2 separate regions of the Homo sapiens genome follow, and region 2 is linked to region 1. Evidence: promoter capture Hi-C in human tissues and cell types (Jung and others, 2019). All regions are on one chromosome and are shown on one strand. Each heading gives the region's core, a stretch centred on a gene start or on the middle of the fragment in contact. The rest is flanking DNA. Distances are from core to core; before and after follow the strand shown.

The links. The method cuts DNA at HindIII sites, captures the fragments that hold promoters and counts their contacts. A contact is called where the count stands out against the background at its distance.
Region 2: a contact is called between a fragment that was not itself captured here and the fragment with the promoter of MPP4 in region 1, in 2 of the 25 tissues and cell types used here (mesenchymal stem cells and psoas muscle).

Annotation. Positions count from the first base shown.
Region 1 is chr2:201,695,982-201,700,782 of GRCh38, reverse strand. MPP4 (MAGUK p55 scaffold protein 4) reads left to right here and starts at 2,139. Exons shown (of 22, transcript NM_033066.3): 1 at 2,139-2,196. It overlaps ALS2 (alsin Rho guanine nucleotide exchange factor ALS2), which reads left to right. Exons shown (of 34, transcript NM_020919.4): 34 at 1-516. RefSeq lists enhancers at 508-1,007, 1,008-1,509. The HindIII fragment of the contact is 2,902 bases long and covers 1-2,481 here.
Region 2 is chr2:201,768,349-201,773,173 of GRCh38, reverse strand. It overlaps ALS2 (alsin Rho guanine nucleotide exchange factor ALS2), which reads left to right. Exons shown (of 34, transcript NM_020919.4): 2 at 4,229-4,308. The coding sequence starts at 4,289. Among named protein-coding and RNA genes, the nearest start is that of ALS2, 10 kb to the left of the region's middle. The HindIII fragment of the contact is 3,871 bases long and covers 396-4,266 here.

The sequences.
Region 1 (4,801 bases), core at 890-3,389:
GCTGTTTTGAATAACATAGGTGCTCTTCCTCATCTCATCTCCTACACCGTGGTGAGCATACAGAGTGTCCTGATTTGTGTTAAGTGACTGAGAAGATGTTAATTACTTTTGAAAAAGGATCATGGTTTTTGCTCTACTTTATAATCAAGACAAGTGTTTATTAAAATACTGTTTTGGAATGTTGGCTGTAATGTAACAGCAATTTTCATAATAAAAGGCATTCATCTTTATGTGGTTGTTTTATGATTGTAGAAGAAATGAACAGGGCAGCCTAAAAGATGAAAGGAAACCCAGACTTAGTATTTCTTTAGCCCACATTGTAATCCATGCCTCTAAGTATTGGCCTCAAAAGTCCCTCTGGGGTTTTAGAAATCTCTGTCTTTAAAATAAACGTAAACCAATAGTTATAGCACCCTTTCTAGCAAAGAGCAAATTAACTTTCTGACCCCAATAACCCAAGGACACGGGTCTCCAAAGAAATCTATTATTTCTTTGAATAAAAAGCATATTTTGATAGTTACTCGTTATTTTTTTTCCTCCTAAACAGATCGAGGGAAGGGAAGGTGAGGCTTTAAAATTCTGCTTAGAAACGTTAGATATTAATTATCTCCCAGTTGTAATGTTTTCTCAAGAGGCCTTTCCATCTTGTTGCTGCCTCTACCAGAATGTGCCTGTCCTCTGTTGGAAGGGGACCAACCCTTAAAAATCCGTTTATGTTAAATACTTTGCATTTACATTGGAGATTGTTTTGAGTTTCTGAACAAACACATAAATAACCACATTTGCCTGGTAAAGCCAAATTTACAGAATTTCTGACTCTGGGCGGGGGTGGATAATATGTGGAAATGGACAAACAAAAACTTTGAGACAAATTGACCCATTGAGAAGATTTCCAATGATGATAGGCTGTCTCTGTTCTAAGAAAAGCCATGTTACAATTCGTCCTTTTACTGGAGTCTTGAATGAAACTGTTCAGTTACTTTGGATTCTTCCTACTATATGCTTTTCAGATAGCATATTAAAGTTATAAATTTTGAAGTGTATTGGAAGAAAAACCCTAAATCTCCAGGCCAATGTTTGTAAATAGAAGTCCTTGGCACTCCTGCAGCAGTTTACAATGGTCATTCACATGCGTAATGAATGCTTACAGCAGCCCAAGGATGCAGGTGTTATCCCCATTTCCCCCCATTTTTCAGACAAGCAGTGACCAAGATTTGCTCACTGCCAGAGCTGGGACTCCAGCCTAGAACTTCCCTACTCCCTACTTCCCTAGAAGTCCAGTGCTTTTTGCTACTACAGCTGCCAGAGATGTCATTTCATAGCTGGTTATGTATTGAAAGTTCTTAAAAGTGAGTTAAAAATGAAAATCTTATTGAAATCAAGTGCTTTTCACAAAATATGCTGTACTCAAAACACAAATGTATCACATTCCCAACTTGTGTTTTCATCTATGATGGAGAGATAAGGAAAGCCATGTGATTAATATGGGTAGAAGGGCTGAGGACCCTCTGATAATTGCCATTTGGTCTCTACCTTTTGCCTTGCTGTCAGCAATACCTTCCTCTCCTTTCTGCAATATCCCCTTCCAAATGCTCTCCCCACTGAGCACTCCCTGCAGTATTAAGTTTTCAGATAAAGAAGTAGCTCCTATCTGAGACAGAAAGCACTATTTGTTAGGTTCAGAACAGTGGCTTGGGAGGGGATTGACCAGAAGGTACTGTTTTTGATGGGTTTCTATTATTAGCTGAACAGTCTTCAGTTGTTTTCTCACCATAACATGAGAGATTTAATAAGGTTAGTAGGTTATTGGCTTATTTCCGGTCCTGCCACATTTTTTTCTTTCATTAAAAATGCTATCTTCTGTTGTGGAATGTCTGTCATCTTGAACTAATCAACAAAAATACTATGTTTTTCTGCCGTTAACTATGTGTTGGCAATTTGAGAGAAAATACTAGAATGTAGGTTTGAAAATGATACAAATTAGACTTCAAGGAATACTTAAGAAGATTTGTGGCAGGAAAGGCTTGTGAGTAATTTAGTTGTTAGGCTGGGTTAGGCATCTGTGGATTACATCAAAGAGGATGTGCAGAGATTTTATCGGGAGCAGTGAGGTGACTTTGGCAGCTAACAGGCCACTAGTATCCTACTAAAGCTTTTGTCTGGATAGGAGCAACATGCATGTTTACAGTCTTGCAGGTAAGAGACCTTGGCAAATAATCCTCAGTTACCAGAAGATGTATCCATAACTGCCTAGCTTGCCTGTCAGTTTTTAATAGCTAAAGATATAAATCTGGGTAATCTAACTCAAATGGCTTAGTTTCATTTTAACTCAAATGATATGGGGAATTTTATGATCTTGAAAGAGCAGGTTTTGCTTCGAGAAGCCATTTCTTCAGTATGGAATAATGAGTTGTCAGGAAGATTGAGTACAATGGGCATTTGCCCTGGTCCTAATCAACAGCATTTGGACCCAGAGGAAGCCAGCTATTTTTGTAAGGGCCATTTCTCATCATTAAGTTTCCAAGTGCTTTTTTAGGGTTTGTCTAGTAAAAAGCACTATTTTGAAAAACAAGCATAGTAAGGGTAGGGGGTTGTGGCATTTAATAGTACGTTTTAAAAAGCTAATGGAAATACTTTTAAAACAAGATTTAGGACAAATTCCTTAGGCATCAGTCACACTAATGCATCTTCTGAGTCAAGAACTGGCTATCCTTTCTGTGTACTCAGTCCGGAATTGCATGTGGTGGGTGCTTACTTATTTGCAGTCTCAATCAAGAATTCTCACTCTCAAGATAGCAGAAATAGATAAGCTTCAACTGACAAATTTGGTACAGAAGTCATGGAAAGGAAGGTAAGTCTTTTGCCAGGCATCATGCCAGGCATCAGCATCTTTCAGGACTAAGGAAACAAAAGAGGAAAACTCGATTTTACTACATGTTAACTCTACTGAATACCTCCTTGAATGTCAGATTCCTTATCTGTAAAACAAAGGTTTTGCATTTGATTATCTCTAAGATCCGCTTCTGCCCCCAGTTTTAAAGTTTGATAGGGAAAGAGGTTTAAGTCAGGATACCAGGCCAGGGAGGAAAGGAAGGGAGGGCACAGGCCTCTGGAGTTCAGCTGCCTCCCCCATTAGGATTGAAGTCCCAGCTGCTGGCTACTGCCTTGAGGGAGGTATCAGCCTTTTACTTCTGGATCTTGGCCTCTCCTTGTTCTACCCCTTCCCAACAACAACTGAACATACCAAGTGCTTGCTATGGCCCAAGCACTGTTGCAGGTGAAGCTGCAGCATGAACAAGATAAGCAACATCTCTGCTCCCCAGGCCCTCTGCAGACATGACACCTGCGGGAGACAGACACTGAGCAAGCCAGTGGATACAAGAACTGGGAAAATGAGAAGTGCTATGAGGGCAAGAAGTTGCAACTGTTTTCTTAGCTACCTGGAGGGAGGGAAAATCATTTTCTGGAAGTTTTTTTCTATGAGTTTTGTCTTAGCTTTGGCTGTCATAACAAAGTACCATAGACAGTGGCTTAAACAACAGAAATGTATTTTCTCATACAGTTCTGGAGGCTGGAAGTTGAAGATTGGGATGCCAGCATGGTTGGGTTCTTGCGAGGGTTCTCTTCCTGGCTTTCAGATGGCCGCGTTTTCACTGTGCCATCATCTGGCAGGGAGAGAGAGAACACATGAACTCTGATGGCTCTTACCCAGACGCTAATGACATCTTGAGGCCTCTACCTCATGACCTTAACCCAGTTACCTCCCAAAGGCCCCATCTTCAAATGCCATCAACAATGGGGATTAGGGCTTCAACATCTGAATTGGGGGTGGGGACACAACATTCAGTCCACCATAAATTTGTCATAGGAACCTGAAGATGAGGAGCCAAGCACAGTTTTTAGAATTTGCATAAGTTGTAGATTACTGTAATTATTGTTTTTGCCTCTATGGCTGAGAAACTTTGGGTCAAAACGAGCCTTTTAGAATGTATGAATTAGTTATCTAGGTAGCCCTGAAGTTGGCTCTAGATTTATTAGAAGCTATTTTAACCATTGCATTCACTCAAGAAACCACCGCCTATCTGTGAAGCACAGTCTATCTGTAAAGCTCCCTCACAATAAATTCATCTCAGAAATATGTAGTCTCTAGTGTGTGCCCCCAACTGCTGAATGGGTAGGCCTAGCTCAGCACAGTCATTCGGGCATTAAATATGGCAGAAATGTGGTCCACCTCATGACGTGCAAACAACAGTTGGCTTGTTTAATCTGCACTGCTTTGCCAAGGACGTGTGATTTGTGAGGTGCTGGAGGGGAACCAATTTTAAGAGTCAGCCTGAGTGTCAGCCTCATCTGTCTGCTCTGACTTTTGTCTGCTCTCTAGCAGGCACTCCATCTCCCTTTTCAATTTTCTACCCTGGAAGTGCTCCCCTCCAGGGAGGAAGATGAGTCAGATATGCAGCTGTGATGCTAAATGATTCAATAGAGTCAAAAACAACACAGAACACAGGAAAACGCATTGTTTAATCTGACTCAATTACAAGTGGGCAAGGTAGGTGATGGAGGGCAAGTCAAAAGCATAACGATGTCAAGCTTTGGTAGAACCTAGCAAACCGGAAGACTTCAGGGTGTTTGGAAAGGAATGTGTAGGGGAAAGTTGTCTAAAATGCTGTAACAGCTTTCTGTGTTGCTCTTCTCACTGCCTTAGAATTTAGAGTCAAAATAATAATGATCTTTTCTTCTTTTAGATAGCCTTCCTGGCTTCAACCCACAATCAGTCTAGATTCTAGACAGTGGTTCTCAA
Region 2 (4,825 bases), core at 1,082-3,581, 72 kb before region 1:
TGAAATAAATCATTGGCCCTTCGCATTGGCTCACGCCTGTAATCCCAGCACTTTGGGAGTCCAAGGTGGGCAGGTCACAAGGTCAGGATTTCAAGACCAGTCTGGGCAACATAGTGAAACCCTGTCTCTACTAAAAATACAAAAATTAGCCAGGTGTGGTGGTGTGCACCTGTAATCCCAGCTACTCGGGAGGCTGAGGCAGGAGAATCATGTGAACCCAGGAGGTGGAGGTTGCAGTGAGCTGAGATCATGCCATTGCACTCTAGCCCAGGCGACAGTGCAAGACTCCATCTCAAAAATGAAAAAAAAAAAAAAAAAAAAAATCATGAAAGCATCCATAGACTGTCCCACTGGAAGCAATGCAACTCCCCAGTGTACTCTCCAAAATGAAGTAAATGTTCAAAGTACATAAAAGAAACCAAGTTAAGTATAAAATAGTTAAAAGTTTTGAGACTTCTACTAAAAAACGATAGTTGTTTTTGAATATAGATTCCTGGTCCTTTATTCAAAACCCTTGGGGCAAGGTGCATTTTGGAATTCAGATTTATGTTTTGTTCTTTAGAGTAAGATGCATAAACTATATATTATATAACACTTCCTGTGGGATCTGTGGTGCTGCCCTATTCATACTGATATTTCTACAACACGATGTATGAATATTCACACTAAAGGGATAAAAGTGATAAATAACCTCATATCAGTTCAGGTCAGATTTTGCTGTCAGATGAGTTCAGGTCAGATTAGATTTTGCCACCAAAAGTGTTATTGAAAAAACTTTTAATTTTCAGAGCTATAGATTTCTGGTTAAGGTATTGTAGACCTGTAAGATGGTTGTAGCTCATCTTTCTAACAGTTGGGACATCTAGACTAGATTGTTGTTGTTGTTGTTGTTGTTAAGGGCACTTCCAGATCATGGTATTAAAATGATATCCTTGGCTCGTACAGGACAACTTATTTCTCTGTTAGATGTAACAGAAGGATGTGTATCCAGTGGAGTCTAAAAGTGGCATCAGTTTATTAAGAAGCAAGGTTTGCTCTTTGTTTAAAGGGCCCCCTGGGGTTTTGTTACTTTACATATCACTGTGAAGGAGATAATAATTTGAAGGATAGAGTGGTATGCTTTAAAGTGAATCTAGCTGTGTCCTGCGGTTCAGAAGACTGAAGTCTGGTTTGCTCATTTTACGGAGATGCCATTTATCTGTGGAGAGGCCATGCAAGGTAAGAGAGGGTCCCACAGTAAATGCTGTTTATGCAACATCACATGGCTTCTTTATCAGAGCTGGTTAACAGGTCTATGCAGGAAAGTTACTGTAACAGAAGAAAAGCAGCAGAGTACAAGGATCTTGCCCTCTTAAGGAATGATAAAGACCTTAAAGCTTCTCTGGAAGAAATATCCCCAGAGGAAGTTTTATGATTAGGCAATTTTATAAAAACTTAAAATGTTAAAGCAATGAAATAACATACAGAAATTTGAATGCTATTTGACTGGTTGAGGTGAGTCTTAATAGATTTCCTGGAGAGACAATCATAAAAATATTAGAAAGACAAAAGTTTTTCATTTACTTTCTTTTCCTGGATGGATACGTAATTGAGAAAGAATGTTAGATTAAATAGAGTTGGTAAATACCACCCTTACTTAAGTATATGAGGATAAAACTTTAATAACATAAGATCCCCACATTTAGTTGCAATATTCCTTTTTAGTTATGTTTCCTCAGCAATCAGTTTTCTTCATTGCCCTATTGGAGTTTCAGGCAGACGTATCTTGTTGGAAGATGTCAAACATATTAAACACCATTAAAACAAAATGAGATAGGGGCCGGGCGCGGTGGCTCAAGGTGGCTCATACCTGTAATCCCAGCACTTTGGGAGGCCGAGGCAGGTGGATCACCTGAGGTCAGGAGTTCGAGACCAGCCTGGCCAACATGGTGAAACCCCGTCTCTACTAAAAATACAAAAATTAGCTAGGCGTAATGGCGGGTGCCTGTAATCCCAGCTACTCGGGAGGCTGAGGCAGGAGAATTGCTTGAACCTGGGAGGCGGAGGTTGCAATGAACCGAGAGCGTGCCATTGCACTCCAGCCTGGGTGACAAGAGCAAAACTCCGTCTCAAAAAAAAAAAAAAAAAAAAATCTGTAAATACTGATGTAAAAAGATGTCTGTGAAATAATATATTAGTTTTCTACTGCAGCTGCAACAAATTGTTATGAACTTAGTGGCTTAAAATAACACAAATAAATATATTATCTTCAAGTTCTGTGGGCTGAAAGTCTGTCACAGGTCTTGTAGACTAAAGTCAAGGTGTCGGCATGGCTGCTTTTTTCTGGACGCTCTAGGAAAGAATTCTTTTCCTTGCCTTTTCAGCTGCTACCTGTCACCTGCATTCCTTGGCTCATGGCTGCCTTCTTCCATGTTCAGTCAGCAGTGTAGCGTCATCTCTGACCCTGCCTCCATCATCATGTCTCTTTGATTCTCCTCCTGCCTCCCTCTTCCACTTTTAAGGATGTTTATGATTACATTGGGTGCACCTGGATAACCAGGATAATCTTTCTATCTTAAGGAGAGTTGGTTAGTATCACACAACCTAACATAGTCACAAGTTCTGGGCATTAGGACCTTGATGCCTTTGGAGACCGTTATTTGGCCTGCCCTATAGTAAGTAAGAAAAGAAAGTTGTAAAAACAGTTTGTAGAGTTTTAATTCCATTTAGGTTAAAAAAAAAAATGAGTGGTGGTGATAAATAATATTGAGTAAGGTGTAACCAACTTTAAGAAAACTGTGCTCAAAAATCTGGCACTAAGAGAGAATAAAGGTTGACTTTATTCATTTTATCAAAAGATTCTCAACATTTTTGATTGTTAGTAGGACAAAATTCCGTTTACATATAGTGTGTCAGTTGTGTGAAGTAAGGTGTGCTTGTGTGCTTCCACATCCTCGTAGAATAATTCTCTGGCTTCCGCTACCTATTGTTGAAATTTAATCAAGGGCGTAGTAACTCCATGATCTCTGATAGATAAGCACAGATTAGATCTGGTGGCAGAATTTCTCTGTACACCATGAACTGTGCATTTTACAAAAGGCTAATTACTATCATGGACAAAGCATAGTAGCACTTAATTGTATTTATTAAATGAATATCATTTATTAAATTTATTCAGATATATCTCTTGTTAACATAGTACCCATTTTCCAACTTTGAATGATTCATAATCTTTCTAAAATAAGCATTAGGTGGAAAGTAATTTTCTTCAGATGTACAGATGGGAAATGGTAAGAATTCACAGGCAACCTGGAGGAAACAGATGGACCCCAGATCACTCCTGCCAGTATGAGCTGTTTCCAGAACACAGTGACCATTCCATATCCTTTTGCAGAAAAACCACAAATTTGGCCCCAATATTTTTATGGTTTACACAAATAAGACCTAACTGCTTTTGTTTTCTTGTGTTTTGGTACCCTTACAAATGTGGATTTCTGAGTTGAAATGCACTCAGCATTTCTGTTTATTTTTCTATCTCTTATTTTATTAAATACTGAGTTTCTAAACTGATGGGCCATGATATTTGTAACTATAATTTTCATACAGCTATTTTCTATTAAAGGTGGATTTTAAAACAGCTGATTTAAAATTCAGACTTCTTTCTTTCAACCGTTTGGGTTATGAGGCATGTTGGTCTGAATCGAAGGTGATTTGGGGAAAATGTTCCTTCTTCCAATAAGTGGAAAACTTCCTATTTTAATGACATAATTTTTGTGCATTACTGAAAAGTATAAATTAAAACTACTTGAATCAGATACATTACTGAAGAGATTTTAGAAAATCTGAGTTAATTGGTATTTAAGTCTTCATGCATTCCAGACAGAGCGTTTAAAAAGTACCCTTAATGTGTGTGTACTTTTTGTACTTAACACATTGATTTTTCAGATTGAACTTTTTTCTTTATAATAAAAAACAAAATCTATTGCCTGGAAGAGTACAGCTTAATTGTGGGTAGTCTTTTCTTCCTTTGACATTACATTTGACAGTCAATGGGCATTTTTATAAGCTTAGTGGGCAGGCTCAGCCTATGTTTGACTTTGGCAGGCAAGATATGAAATAGTTTAAATAGTTTTACTGCATATTTATTTCCTAGTGAATGTGCACTTGTTAGAGGGCTGCTTTTTTTTTTTTTAATGTCTGAGGGGTAAAATATTCTTTTACTGCTCTTTTCCTTACTTGTACTGTTTAGGTCTTGATAGACTTTCTGTAAAGAAGGAATGATTTGGTGATGGAGTGTTCCCACTGACCGATGGACTCAAAGAAGAGAAGGTAAAATCATTTCTTCCTTTTCTCTTATCCTCCTAGGAAAACATAGCAAACAGCTTCACATATGTGTAGCTTCTCTTCAGTTTAATTTTCTTGTTGATGGTTGTTAAGTGGGAATAGTGACATTTGTAGTTAGTTCGTTGGTAAAGATAAAATTTTAAAAAGGCTTGTTAGTTGTAAGCTTTGTAAGAAGCACTAAATGTCTTCATTTCATCATTTTAAAGTGCTTGTAGCCATTTTTCCCTCACAAATAATTTCAGGTTTTCAGAAGTAGCCTTGCTAATCTTAATCATCTTCCATCCTTAAAGAACTAGTTATGGAAGATATTTAAAAGGAAGGTTAAATGTATACTGTTCCTCCTATAGAACCATGGTTATGTCCAGTTATAATTTAAGGGAATATTATTTAGCAAATATAGATAAATGCTTAGCTATTCAAAAGAGTTTCTGTGCCTCATTAAAATTTTGGCATCAGCGTTCTAGAAAAAAGAAAATGAAAAAATGTATTACCAATGGTGGCA